3 separate regions of the Homo sapiens genome follow, and all the other regions are linked to region 2. Evidence: promoter capture Hi-C in 16 types of primary human blood cells and fetal thymus (Javierre and others, 2016). All regions are on one chromosome and are shown on one strand. The core of a region is centred on a gene start or on the middle of the fragment in contact, and the rest is flanking DNA. Distances in the headings are between cores, read along the strand shown. Region 1 overlaps FARP1 (FERM, ARH/RhoGEF and pleckstrin domain protein 1). Region 2 holds the start of FARP1 (FERM, ARH/RhoGEF and pleckstrin domain protein 1). Region 3 overlaps FARP1 (FERM, ARH/RhoGEF and pleckstrin domain protein 1).

Evidence for each region. Contacts are between HindIII fragments. The CHiCAGO score rates a contact against its expected background, and 5 or more counts as called.
Region 1: a contact is called between a fragment that was not itself captured here and the fragment with the promoter of FARP1 in region 2, in 1 of 17 cell types (endothelial precursors). The highest score is 5.9, in endothelial precursors.
Region 3: a fragment that was not itself captured here is called in contact with the fragment with the promoter of FARP1 in region 2 in 1 of 17 cell types (endothelial precursors); the score reaches 5.4 in endothelial precursors.

What each region holds. Positions count from the first base shown.
Region 1 is chr13:98,352,477-98,356,675 of GRCh38, forward strand. The region is part of intron 3 of FARP1 (FERM, ARH/RhoGEF and pleckstrin domain protein 1); the gene reads left to right. Among named protein-coding and RNA genes, the nearest start is that of FARP1-AS1, 81 kb to the right of the region's middle. The HindIII fragment of the contact is 1,122 bases long and covers 2,382-3,503 here.
Region 2 is chr13:98,141,758-98,146,339 of GRCh38, forward strand. It overlaps FARP1 (FERM, ARH/RhoGEF and pleckstrin domain protein 1), which reads left to right and starts at 1,337. Exons shown (of 27, transcript NM_005766.4): 1 at 1,337-1,735. It overlaps LOC105370328 (a long non-coding RNA gene), which reads right to left and starts at 2,153. Exons shown (of 3, transcript XR_931670.4): 1 at 2,082-2,153. RefSeq lists silencers at 788-837, 1,078-1,387. The HindIII fragment of the contact is 2,199 bases long and covers 800-2,998 here.
Region 3 is chr13:98,386,810-98,391,189 of GRCh38, forward strand. It overlaps FARP1 (FERM, ARH/RhoGEF and pleckstrin domain protein 1), which reads left to right. Exons shown (of 27, transcript NM_005766.4): 9 at 1,574-1,669; 10 at 3,148-3,311; 11 at 4,003-4,071. Among named protein-coding and RNA genes, the nearest start is that of FARP1-AS1, 47 kb to the right of the region's middle. The HindIII fragment of the contact is 3,103 bases long and covers 977-4,079 here.

The DNA.
Region 1 (4,199 bases), core at 1,693-4,192, 210 kb after region 2:
CAGAGAAGGGGAGGGCAATCGAGCCAGGGAACTTGAGAAAGCACGCTTCCATATCCTTCAACACTGTACAGAAACAATAGACAAGGAAGCTCTGGGAGCTTTGAAAAGCTACTCTGAACCATGACTTTAAACAGGTTAGGAAACAATTTTCACATAAAAATGAGTAACAAAAATGTATCAAGGTCATAATGATATTTAAAAAACAGAGACTTCAATGTGTTCTTCCTGAGACACCACGTTTGGCCTTGCCAAAGGATTCAGGTGGATCCAGCTGCCAAATTGTAGAAACTACAGGGAAGATGATCATGTTGAATAGTACTGTGAGTGTGCAGTCAGCAAAATCCAAACTCCAGGAAACCCTACAAGTCAACAGTGAGGAAAAGAAAGAGATGGAAGAGGAAGCTATAGATTAAACAATATAAACTCCTGCCCTCTACAAGTAACCTCCATGCAGAGTTTCAGAGTAACTGCATATGTTTGTAATGTTTTATTTCACCACATCGTGCATCTTTATACACCAGAGTTTAGTCTTAAGACTATAAAGACTAAGCAATTTGGGGGTGGGGGCACCACACACTTTTAACCAGATCTCCCATGAACTCTGAGTGAAAACATATTTATTACCCAAGGGGATGGTGCGAAGCCATTCATGAGTCTCAAGGCTAGAGTGGTTTAGTCTTAAGACTAAACTCTGGCGTATAAAGATGCACCATGTGGCAAAATAACACATTACAGACTTATGCAGTTACGATGAAACTCTGCATAGTGGTTACCTGTAGAGGGCGGGAGTTCAGTTTGGAAGGAGTTGACCAGCAGAGTTTGATTTCTTGACTTGGTTGATAGATACAAGGGTGTTTACCATCTAATAATTCACTAAGCTGTACATTTGCTTTGTGCAGTATTATTATTATTACTTTTTGAAACAGAGTTTCACTCTTGTTGCCCAGGCTGGAGTGGAATGGTGCAATCTCGGCTCACTGCAACCTCCGCCTCCCAGGTTCAAGTGATCCTCCTGTCTCAGCCTCCCGAGTAGCTAGGATCACAGGCATGTGCAACCATGCCCAGCTAATTTTGTATTTTTAGTAGAGATGGGGTTTCTCCATGTTGGTCAGGCTGGTCTCGAACTCCTGACCTCAGGTGATCCACCTGCCTCGGCCTCCCAAAGTGCTAGGATTATAGGCATGAGCCACCACACCCGGCCTGCTTTTTGTAGTTTTAAGCATCTGTTTATTTTAATATTAAATATTTTTTAAAGGTTGAAAAGGAAAAAGGTATACAGCAGAATAAGCAAATGATAGTTTAAAGGGTTGTATAGCATTTTATCTATAGTTAACACTGTGTTGCATGCTTAAAATTTTGAGAGGGTAGATCTCATGTTAACTCTTCTTACCACAATTTTTAAGAGTTCAATTAACCATAACACCCATGTGAAATCTTTTGAAATGAGTCATTCGAAGCTAATGAAAATTAAACAAATGATTTAAAAATAGTTTAAACTGAGTAATTGATGTTTTGCAAGGACCATGCCTGAGGTCTGCTGAATCCTGGTTAAGAAGTAAAGATTGTAGATATTAAAGCTTCCCTCCAAGTCCAGGCTCCCTGAAACCCCACACATTGCATTGTAATATTGTCTTGGTTTGATTCCAAAGCTTCCCTTCACATATATCTCTAATACCAACTCCTACTTAATGAGTTCAGTACACAAGTGCATAGGGATAGCCTGTACTACATTTGATTTTGTAGTTTGGTTTGCAGATCTGTCTTTAATTTCTTTTTCATTTAAAGCTTTTTTGGTAAATACGTAAAACCATATTCTACGATTTTCAGTTCAAATTTTATTAAACACAGATTCCCTTCACCAGATTAGTGTTGTCAAAAAGGGAAGGTAGGGAGAGGTAGTAGGATAGATGAAAAGAGACTTAGAGGACATAACCAGATATGAAACATGGTCTTGGTTTGGACGTTAGTTTTGACAGATCACCAATAAGGACGTTCTTTAGTTAATTGGAGGAATTTGAATATTGCCTGAGTATTTGATGAGAGGAAAGTTTACAAAATGGAGAGGTACAAATCTTTGAAAAAAGAAGTAGCTGATAAAACAATTTTGAAAAGAGTCTGGTAGGATTCTTATTAAACTAAATATACACTAATTTTTTTGACACAGCAGTTCTACTCCTAAGTATTTACGTAAGAGAAATGAAAGCTTATGTCCATAAAAATAAGTATAAAAATATTCTTTGCAGTTTTATTCATAACTCCAAACTGGAAATCGCACATGTGCCATCAAGAGAAGAATTGTTAAACAGACTATGGTATACTACATTATGTAGAGGGAAAGAAGTCTTAGACAAAATTATATTTTCATTTATCCAAAGTTCTTAAGCTTTAGGTAATAAGCACTTGAAACATAGCTAGTGCAAATTGAAATGTAATCTAAGTATGAAATAGGTGTGGAATTCCAAAGAGTAGCAAAGAAAGCAAAATATCTCATTAATCATGTTTTTATACTGATTACATATTTAATTGGTAATATTCTGCACAGATGGGGTTAGATAAAATATGAAACCATTTTTAAAATTTTATTTTGGTGACCAGGCAAGATGTCTCATGCCTGTAATCCTAGCGCTTTGGGTGGCTGAGGCATGTGGATCACTTGAGCTCAGGAGTGTAAGACCAGCCTGAGAAACATGGTGAAACCCCTCTACAAAAAATACAAAAACTAGCCAGGCATGGTGGCTCACACCTGTAGTCCTAGCTACTTGAGGGGGCTGAGGCAAGAGGATCACTTGAACCCAGAAGGTAGAGGTTTCATTGAGCCAAGATCGAGCCACTGTACTCCAGCCTGGGTGACAGAATAAGACCCTGTCTCAAAAAAATAAAAAATCTCATTTTGGTTTTTAAAAAGTATATGAATGTTTATATTCATACACATCACATATAATGAGAGATATGGAAATGTATGTACTAAGGCAGTGGTTCTTAAAGCATGGTCCACAGACCAACAAGCAGCATCCACATCACCTGAGAACTGGCTAGGAATGCACATTCTCAGGGCCGCATCCCAGATTAGGAACTCTGGGAACAGGGCCCAGTGGTGTACGTTTCAACAAGCCCTTACTTAGGGCAATTTTAATACATGCTCAACTTTGAGAACCACTTCCCTAAAGTGTTAATGATGATCTCCTAATGGTGAAAAACATATTTTTAAAAATTTTCCGTATTTGAATTATCTAATTTTCTAGATTACATATGTTTAAATTGTAATAGATTATTTTTAAAATTAATAGGGTTTTTTTGTGGCATCCCACAAAGGTTGATTTCTTTGTGGCATCCACAAATTGTGTTTTCATTTTCAATACTTTCCCATTTCCCCTTGGTTTCTTCTTTATTTAAAAGTATGGTATTTCATTTCTAAATCTATGGGAGATTTTTCACAAATTCTTCAATTGTTGCTTTATTATTGAATTCCATAGTGGTCAGAAATCATAGTTCATATGACATGAAGCTTTTAAAGTAATTTACTGATACTTGTTTTATGGTCCCGAATATGTCTTATGTTGGCAAGTGTTTTACATGCACTTGGAAAAGACTGTATGTTCTGTGTTGGGTAGGATATTCAATATATTTCAATGAGGTTACGTTGTTCAAATCTATTATTTATTTTCTGCCTACATACTAATATTGAGAAATAAATATTAAAAATCTCTGTAATTATAATTGTTGATTTTTCTACAGTCATGCGTCACTTAACGATGGCTATATGTTCTGAGAAATGTGTTTTTAGGCAATTTCATTGTGCGGACATCACAGAGTGTACTTACACAAACAGGTGGTGTAAGTACGGTTGTCTCTATAGCATATTACTGAACTGAATACAATAGGCAATTATAATGGTAAGTATTTGTGTTTCTAAACTAAAAAAGGTACAGTAAAAAATACAGGATTATGATATATACCACTGACGTATTATGCGCCTGTTCTTGACTGAAATGTCACTATGCGGTGCATGACTGTTTCTCCTTGCAGTCTCATCAGTTTCCTAATCATGTATTTTAAAATTGTTATTAAGTGTATAAATATTTAAGATTGTTTCGTGCTCTTGACTAAGTGACTCCATTATCATTAAGAAATTACCCTTTTAAAATTTTATTTATTTATTTATTTATTTATTTATTTATTTTTGAGACAGCCTCGCTCTG
Region 2 (4,582 bases), core at 87-2,586:
GCGGCCCAAGAATGTTCATTTCTTGACGTTTCCAGGGGCTGCTGGTGGTGGTCGTGGTCTGAGAACCACACTTAGAGAATCACGAGCAGAAAAAAATCTGATCTGTGACACACAGCTGGTTGGGCTGACAGAGCAAAGCCTCAAACCCACCATTTCTTCTCTTCAACCACAGACCACCAAATCTGCAAGTATTACATCTCTGCTCCTCCCCAGGAGCTGCCCACAAGCACCCCCTACTTCCAAGACCCCTGTTCTTGTCTCAACCCGCCCTTCTATCAGGGTCCCTACACTCCACTTCTGCCCAGCTCCTGTCCAGCTGTGAGTTCACTTGAGGCCTCTCCCGTGAAATCTGCCCTCTCGGTCTGAGGTCAGGGAACTCCTGTAAGACGCAAAAGGCCCACGGTTCTGAGCCAGTGGCCTCCGAAGGCCGGAATCCGCTAGCCCCGGGTCTGGCAGAACGTCACTTGCTGCGCCCTAGGCCTCTTCCCGCCACGCTTAGAGAGAGGGACTGGAGGCTCAGAAGGGGGAAGAGAAGGTAACGCGGCAGCTGCTGGGTGGGGACGGTGACTGTGCCCCTAGATCGCTGCCTCCTGGGTCCTGAATCTTGCTCCCCGCTCCGTAGAGTTCCCGAAACCCCGAAGGCTCTCAAGCACCGCAAGCCACTCCTAACCTCCCCCACGCCATTCCCCAAGGGCACTGTCCCCCGAGGCTGGGCGGGCGGGAACTGTCATGGGATTCGCTCGGGCGGAGGGCGCTGGGCCAGGACGTGGGCGGGCGCGGGGTGGCCGCCGCTCCCCCAAGCTTAAGTCCCGCGCAGCCCGGGGTGGTGCCGGAAGCCCGTGCCTGTGGCTCCGGGGGAGGGGAGGGCTCGGTGGGTCCCTGAAGACTGTCCTCCCCGCGCGACGTCGCAGGCGAAGCAGCCCCAGGCAGGACCTCAAAAAGCGACCTGCAGAGTCCGAGCCCCTGACCGCCCGCCTGCCGCTCCCGGCTTCGCCGTGCACACGTCTCCCGCTCTCCCCGGTTCGTTTTTCGCCACAGCTGCTGGATTCGCGTCTCGCCAGTGGCGCTCCCCGCGCTGCATTAGGTAGCGCCGCGCGGAGCCCGGCCCTGGCCGGAAGCCCAAGAGAGGCGCAGATCCCCGGCGGCGCGCTGGGCTCGGGAGGCCCCTGGGCGCACCTGCCCGGGCGGAGCGGAGCGGGGCGGGGCGGGCGCAGGGCGCGGGCCCGGACGCTGGAGGGGGCTGTGGCTCTCCCGCGTCCCCGCTGCTCGGGCTGCGCGGCGCCCGCCTCCCCCCGCCGAGGGGCCGGCCCAGACCCGGGGAGGGGCGGTGGCCACTGCACTTCCCGCTCGCCGGCCTCAGAGGCGGCGGGTCCGGCGCGGGCGCAGCGGTGCGGGCGCTCGGCTGGGGCGCGGGGCGGGGACGCGGCCGCTGCCCGCTTTGCGCCGCTCCTCCCTGCGCGAGTAGCGCTGGCCCCGGCGTCGAGGCGGCCATGGCGACCCGGAGCCCGCTCCCCACCCACCCCGCCTGCTCCGCCCTCCCCTCCGCCCCGCGCCACCTTTGATGGCTCGGACCTCAGCCGGCCACCGCCAGCCCTGCTCGCGCGCCCGCGCCGCCGCCGCCCGCGGGTATTAATAGCCGGCGCCGCCGCGCCCTCGGCCGCCGGGGGCTTGGGAGCCGCCGATCCCGGAGCCCGAGCCGGGAGAGGGAGCCGCCGCAGCCGCCGGCGCTGTGGAGGTAGGAGGCGCGCGGTGAACAATGACCGCGGCGGGAGGGCGGGGGCCGGCGGGGTCCGGGCCGCGGGCGGCAACTTGTGCGAGTCCAGGCTCCCGCAGCGCACGGCCGCGGCTGCGGGCGAAGGTGGGCGCGTGGTCCCCGAGGTCCTGCCCTGCGCAGTCGGGCGGCGGGTCGGGCCCGGGCAGCCCCGGCCACCATCGCAGGAGCTCGGGGGCCTCGGGGCTCCGGGCTGCCCCCTGCGCCCCTCTCCCCTCACCTCCGCCGACGTCGGGCTGCGGGGCTCCGCGCCGGTCCCCGCTCGCCTCCCCCGACCCCGGCGCCCTTCCCCCGTTTCCTTCCGTCCTACCCGCCCGCTGACAGCGCTGGACGCCGCTTCCGGACCTCGGGCCGCAATCTCGGCCCCTGAGGCCGGTTGCGGGCCGGGGAGGTGGCCGCTGGCGCGGATGCCGCCGGGTGCCCGCCGCTCGCCCACGCGCGGCGCGAGGGTTCCCGGCGGGTGACAAAGAGGAACACACCCTCTGCCCAAGTTAGATTTGTGTCTCTCTTTACTGTCTGCCTTTATGCAGGGCAAAGTTTTTTTTATTTTTTATTTTTTAAAGCAAAGGACAGATTGCTTTGCGGCGAGTATTTCCAAACAACTTCTGATTGTGGTTTTACGATTCAAGTTCCGGAAACTTTAGCTGTGTGATCCGGCTGGACCCCGGAGACTCTGTGTGTGTGTGTGTGTGTGTGTGTTTTATTTGAGGGGGGGAAATACGAATTCCCTGTAATGAGTCTGGATCTCGTTTGTGGCAGCTGGAGGCCAGCGGCTGTTGGGGATCGAGTAGGGTTCCCCAGAAAGGAGGGAGCTGAGGCTCACAAAGAAGCGAGGCCCTGGTATCTGATCAGTTCGTGGAGACGTGGGAGAGCCTGCTTGTCATCTGGAACAGTTTAGCAGCCTCGGCCTCCCTGTCTCTCCCAGCCCTGGGGAGTACCGGTGGCCTCTGGCCGTTTCATTATATTGTTGTTAAGGCTCTTCTCCTTGTCAGTTTACCAGGTTTGACCGCCCAGCCCTGGTCTCTGCGTGGAAACCCCCGGGGGCCCCTCTCCTTCCAGTAGGCAACATCTTCAGAGCCAAACCCTGGCCTAGCACTGGCTTCTGTTTAATGTGCTTTGCACGTGGTGACTTGCGGAGCCCATTTCAGAACATCCTCCAGCATTGTCTTGCTTTTCTTATTCAGTCTGAACAAGGAGAGGAGAAAGAAACATCTTTCTGGTCCTGAAAGCTTTAGGGAGAGTTGCCTTAAAAATTGGCTTCGTTGTTCCGGAGACTTTAGGAGGGCCCTGCTTCATCCTATCTTTGGCTTTCTCCCTCCTTCCACAGTGTTCTCGTAGGGGGTTTATTCTCAGTCTTTCGGATGGGTTGGTCTCCAGGATGTGACAGTTTCTGACAGTGTGCTTCATAAGTGGGTACAGCTAGCACATGGCTCACTTTATATTCCTGCAGCATCGTTCTGCAGCAAGGCATCAATATTGGAGTTACTCCAAGCACAACGAAGCGTTTGTGTTTTTAGAATGTCTGGCTAATAGATCTGCTTCTGGGTAAAATAAATAGAAGCATTATTGGGCAATGGCTGCTTTACTGAGGGAATTGTTGGTGGAGACAGTGAGTAGATGCCTTCCTAGCCCAGCGCCTCCCAGAATCTCTTACTTGTTTCTTTTATGTGAATGGGAAACTGGAAACCCTCGGTGTGGAGGTGGCTGTGCCTCCTAGGGGCAGATTCTATGGTGCACCACCCCGCCCCCGTTACTTGGGGTGTGGTGTTTCATTGAGAAGTTCTGTCACTGTGGGAATCCTTTTGAAGCGTGGTTTCTAATGCCCCCTTTCACATTGATATTCTCTTCCTTTAATTGATACAGGGATGGATTTATTCCTTGCTTCATAATAGAATGTTAACTTTACTCTGTAGCCAGACTTATCAAAGAAGATCTTAAAATAATTATCCTGGACAAGTTTCTTACTGGGTTATTGCATTCACCTCAGAATTATCCAGAGTTTACAAGGAACCTGGAGGAACGTTTTTGTTTCACTTTTCGTTAAAGAAACTGTCCAAGGGGGCTGGGCATGGTGGCTCACACCTGTAATCCCAGCACTTTGGGAGACCGAGGCGGATCACTTGAGATCAGGATTTCCCAGCCTGGCTAATATGGTGAAACCCTGTCTCTACTAAAAATACAAAAATTAGCCAGGGGTGGTAGCAGGTGCCTGTAATCCCAGCTGCTCAGAGGCTAAGCCAGGAGAATCGCCTGAACCCAGGAGGCGGAGGTTGTAGTGAGTTGAGATTGGGCCACTGCACTCCAGCCTGGGCAACAGAGTGAGACTCTGTCTCAAAAAAAAAAAAAAAAAAGAGAAAAAAGGAACTGCCCAAGGAAATTGTTTTGTTTTGTTTTTTGGTTAAAGATACAAATAAGATAGCATTGAAAGGGTTAGTTTTTTTTAAACAGTGAAGCTTATACTCATTTAATTTATTGAACACCTAAGAGCTTAATTCATTTGGAAAATTGTATATATTTATGAGGAGGATGCTTGTGATAAACATCAGAAAAAAACAACTCTTTTCATCCTGGACGGGATTAGAGAATACTAGAGAAAGGATAAAAGGCTGGTTTCTGCAGGCAGAATATGCTTAGGAAAAATGGCATTGTGATTTTCCCAGAGGATAAGAGAAATTCTGTGGATTTGTAAGTACTGTACTTGCCTGATTTTTTTTTTTGAGATGGAGTTTTGCTCTTGTTTCCCAGGCTGGAGTGCAATGGCGCAATCTCGGCTCACTGAAACCTCTGCCTCCCAGGTTCAAGCGATTCTCC
Region 3 (4,380 bases), core at 1,278-3,777, 250 kb after region 2:
AAAAGAGTTCCAGTGATTCTCTATTCATGCACCAGAAGTTTATGACAGCATAATTATTACAAATCACATCCCAAGAAGAGTTAAGTTGGCTTCCTGCCAGGTAGTAGGGAGTGACATTGTGAGAGCAGTGTGGTATTCAAGGCGGATTTTTTCTTGACAGTTTTTGACCTGCACGCATAGCCTCTGAGTATCGGATAAGAGAAACAATAGGCCGGGCGCGGTCGCTCACACCTGTAATCCCAACACTTTGGGAGGCTGAGACGGGTGGATCACCTGAGGTCAGGAGTTCGAGACTAGCCTGGTCAACATGGTGAAACCCCGTCTCTACTAAAAATACAAAAATTAGCTGGGCATGATGGCGTGTACCTGTAATCCCAGCTACTTGGAAGGCTGAGGCAGGAGAATCGCTTGAATTTGGGAAGCAGAGGTTGCAGTGAGCCAAGATCATACGACTGCCCTCCAGCCTGGGTGACAGAGCAAGACTGTCTCAAAAAGAAAAACAATAAAGCCAAGTGGAGTTTTGAGTACTATCATTAAATTTCAAATCACAATCCTGAACCATTTCTAAAAAGTATTAAGAAGGAAAAGAAGTGTCTCACAATTGAATTAATGTGCTTTGATTGTGTTTGACACAATCCCTAAGTATTGGGAATACCTGGGTAATGTAGTCACGTGCAAAGCCTGTGTCTCGGAACCCACCTTCTTGCCAGTGCCCTATTGCTTCATTCTTGCCACGTTAAATGAACAGGCCTGGTGTTCCAGTGGGCTCCAGAGGAATTCTAATTTCAGCTGAGACTGGGCAGATGGGAGTTGGTATCCGGCAGCTCCCCGTTGTTTCTCCACCTTGGATGGAGACAATGACTCCCTGGCTGCCAAAGACAATGAAGACATGTGAATCCGGCCCAGAGACTGTGCTGGCCTTGAAGACACACAGCAGGCCTGGCCTCCCATCCTCAGTTCTACCGGTGCTGTTGGAAGCTTGATGGGCCCAGGAGCCAGACCAGCGTGGATGAAGCAGGGAGTTGATTGCAAACCTGCTGAATGTTAACCATAGCTGCCAGGAAGGCGTGTGCTTGGAAGTCTCTTTCTGCCACATTAAACGTGTCATTTGCAGCAAATTAAAATAAATCCACGTTGCAGTTTCCATGTGTATAAAATGAAAATAGTAAGTCCATCTTGCTGGGTTTTATCATATCAGGGTTGTTAAGATACAGTATATAAAGCCCTCAGGATGGTACCTGGCGCTTCCTAAGTCCTGGCAGCTAATGATTGTGGTGGTTGTCATGGTTTTTATTTCTATTTATCTTTCTTTTCATCATTATCTTGGCTAGTTTCTTCTCTCCCTAGAGGCAGACTTAGTTTGTATGCCAAAATCCTATAATTAGTGAGAAATAATGATCCAGGAACAGGTATCATCCGATAGCCACAGATCCTGTGAGTTCTCTGCAAAAGTCATCTCTACTGAGCAGTCGCCTGCCAGCCCTCTTCCTTTAGCTCCCATAAGCAAAACAGACCAACTCCCAAGTTGCTTGTTATGCATTTCCTGGCTCACTGCTACTGTCTTTCTTTTTAGGGTTTCACTAAGATCAATGCCTTCAACTGGGCCAAGGTGCGGAAGCTGAGCTTCAAGAGGAAGCGCTTTCTCATCAAGCTCCGGCCAGATGCCAATGTAAGTGGTCCTGGCGGGAAAGGGGACCCGTTGAGCCATGGGATGGCGTGTGTCCTGCAAGGGGTGGAGGTCTGCTTGGCAGGGCTTCTGCTGAACCTCTGGCCAGTGCTACCCAGGTGCTTTTGTCCACATGAACGCCGAGCGTCTCTAGGACAGATGTATCCAAATGGTCGGTAACTCTACGGCTGTCATCGTTGGTAAACAGAGAGCGTAAAGGAGGTACATGAACATGTACCTGGGGAGAGGGTCATTTCCCTGCGCAGATTCAGGCAGCCCCTCCTGATAAACAACCTGAGCTGTGCTATTGCTGTGCATCCAGCCCCAGGCTACACCTGGAGACCCCATTCAGTATCCTGCCCTACCCCAGGCATAGACTGACTTCCCCAATCCCTGCTGGAGGCCCTGAGCCCCCAGTGGAACTCATTTTCATGGGCTAATTAGGTTCCCTTCCCCACTTACTTCCCACAACACGCCTAACACTGTGGCCCACGCCAGGACTGGGACGGGAAGGGAGGAGAAGCCTCTTCTTTGTCTGCCAGAAATGGCGACGGAGGAGGTGGGTGATGTGTCCTGGGCGTCTGTCCCCAACCAGCGTGTAGAGTTCTTTTTCCCATGGCAAAGAAGATGATAAATGGCAATTAGGCTTATAGTGTAGCTACAGTCTGGGTTCAGTAGGTTTTCATGGCCCGACCTGGGAAGCATATACCCATTTTAAATGGTTTTCCATGGAAAAATTCACTGGAGTTCCAAAAAGCTGCCTTATAGATAAAGAACTGCAGCACAGCTTGTTTGTAAGTTGGGTCCACCCAAAACTGTGAGATCCCCCAAAATAGTTAGAACTGCTGGGAATGCTAAGGACAGTAGTAACTTTTGTTTATATAATATGGCCACTTCAATTGGGAGCAGAAAATTTCTATATCCCCTTTCCAGAATCAAAGGGCATGATTTTTTTCAGCCAAGAGTGACACTTTGTGCTCCAGAAAAAAAAATTCATTTCCTGTGTAGTTCCTGGGGTGGCCTGGAGCCCGGAGCCGTGGGCGACTTCACAGAGAAACGACGTAAGAGCCAACATTGACACGAAGTATGAGGAAGAGGATGAACGTTGCGTTTCAGTGATTTTAAGGAGGCAGGAAGGGACTTTCAGTATCTGGGTTTTGTTTTTCAAGGAAATGTAAGCCAAATAAACATAATTTGTATATGAAATCTGTCAAAAAATGGTGTCACTTCCATTGAAGCCACGTGGCTGTTTCTGTTACCCGTCTAAGAGATTCTGTGGGGAAGAAAATGATGGACTAGGGACCACATCTTGTCCTTAAGAATAACTAGAGTTTAGTAAGTCTTTGCACTGATGGTCATGCTATAATAAAATACACAGCGAAAACTTTATCGGACAAAGCTATCTTCTGCCCCTTTTCTCCTATTTCAGTGGTGTATCTATGGGTAATGGAAAAAACCACCGTTGTATTTTCCCTTTTTAGAGTGCGTACCAGGATACCTTGGAATTCCTGATGGCCAGTCGGGATTTCTGCAAGTCCTTCTGGAAAATCTGTGTTGAACATCATGCCTTCTTTAGACTTTTTGAAGAGCCCAAACCAAAGCCCAAGCCCGTCCTCTTTAGCCGGGGGTCATCATTTCGGTTCAGGTGAGGTCGCCACTTTGTGCCTCTGTTTGCTGGGTGCACGTTTTTCCTCCCGCCTCTCACAGCCGCTGTGACACACAGCAGGTCAGGGAGGTGAACGCTCATTGGCCTCCAGGAGCTATGGCCAAGCGGGGGCGCTTGTATCTTAATCCCAGTGGGCTCTGTTTGAACAGCAGAGGCACCAGGCAAAGCCACCCAGTCATGGTAAACGCCTAGCGGGAGTCTCTAACTCAGAAAGGATTTCTCTCTCAGTAGAAGTACAGTGTCTTACTAACATTTGGTGTTGCTTCATAGAATATGTGGACTTGGATGTTATTGGTGAACTTTTCCATTCATTTTTAACAAATCATTGTCTGCCATGTGTCAAATACTGTTCCAGGCACTGAGCCCAGTGATCCCTGCCTTCACTAAAGGCACAGGCTCTTGGGATGGTTGCTTAGTAACCAAACACAGTTATCAAGTGGGCTTAGTTAATTGAACATTTTTTCTGTATATTCAAGGAAAATATCAAGAGACTGAGTGGACCCAAAAATACAGAGTCTGTCAGGATTGCTTTTAGTCCTGGCTAGCCAAGCAACCCTGCATCTCTCCCAGTTAGGGAAGGAGGGGAAGTGAAGCCCTGAAGCATCATTTGTGTGTTTAAATGAGAATGCCTTGGTATTTCTCCCCTTCCCTGTTGTGGTCTCTGTTTCAGTGGTCGGACTCAGAAGCAGGTTCTCGACTATGTTAAAGAAGGAGGACATAAGAAGGTGCAGTTTGAAAGGTAAGAGAAGCTTCAATGCTACTTCCAGTCTGAGAAGGCTCAGACTCGCCAGGTAACAGTTTGTTGCTGCTAAATATTTCTTTACCCAGACTTCAGACTTGATGTCCCTTGAGTTGTAAATGATAGTCTCAGTCATCCTCAGCAAGTCCAGTGTTAGAGAGGAAGGTTTTAGAGCCCAGGGGCACACCCTCGAGAGTGAGATGAGAACAGACAGAAAGGACTAGGGGAGGCGGGAGAGGACATACTGGGGAAGGAGAGAAGGGCTTAGGACATCACAGTGGGGGATGAAGCATGATAAAAACTAGCTCA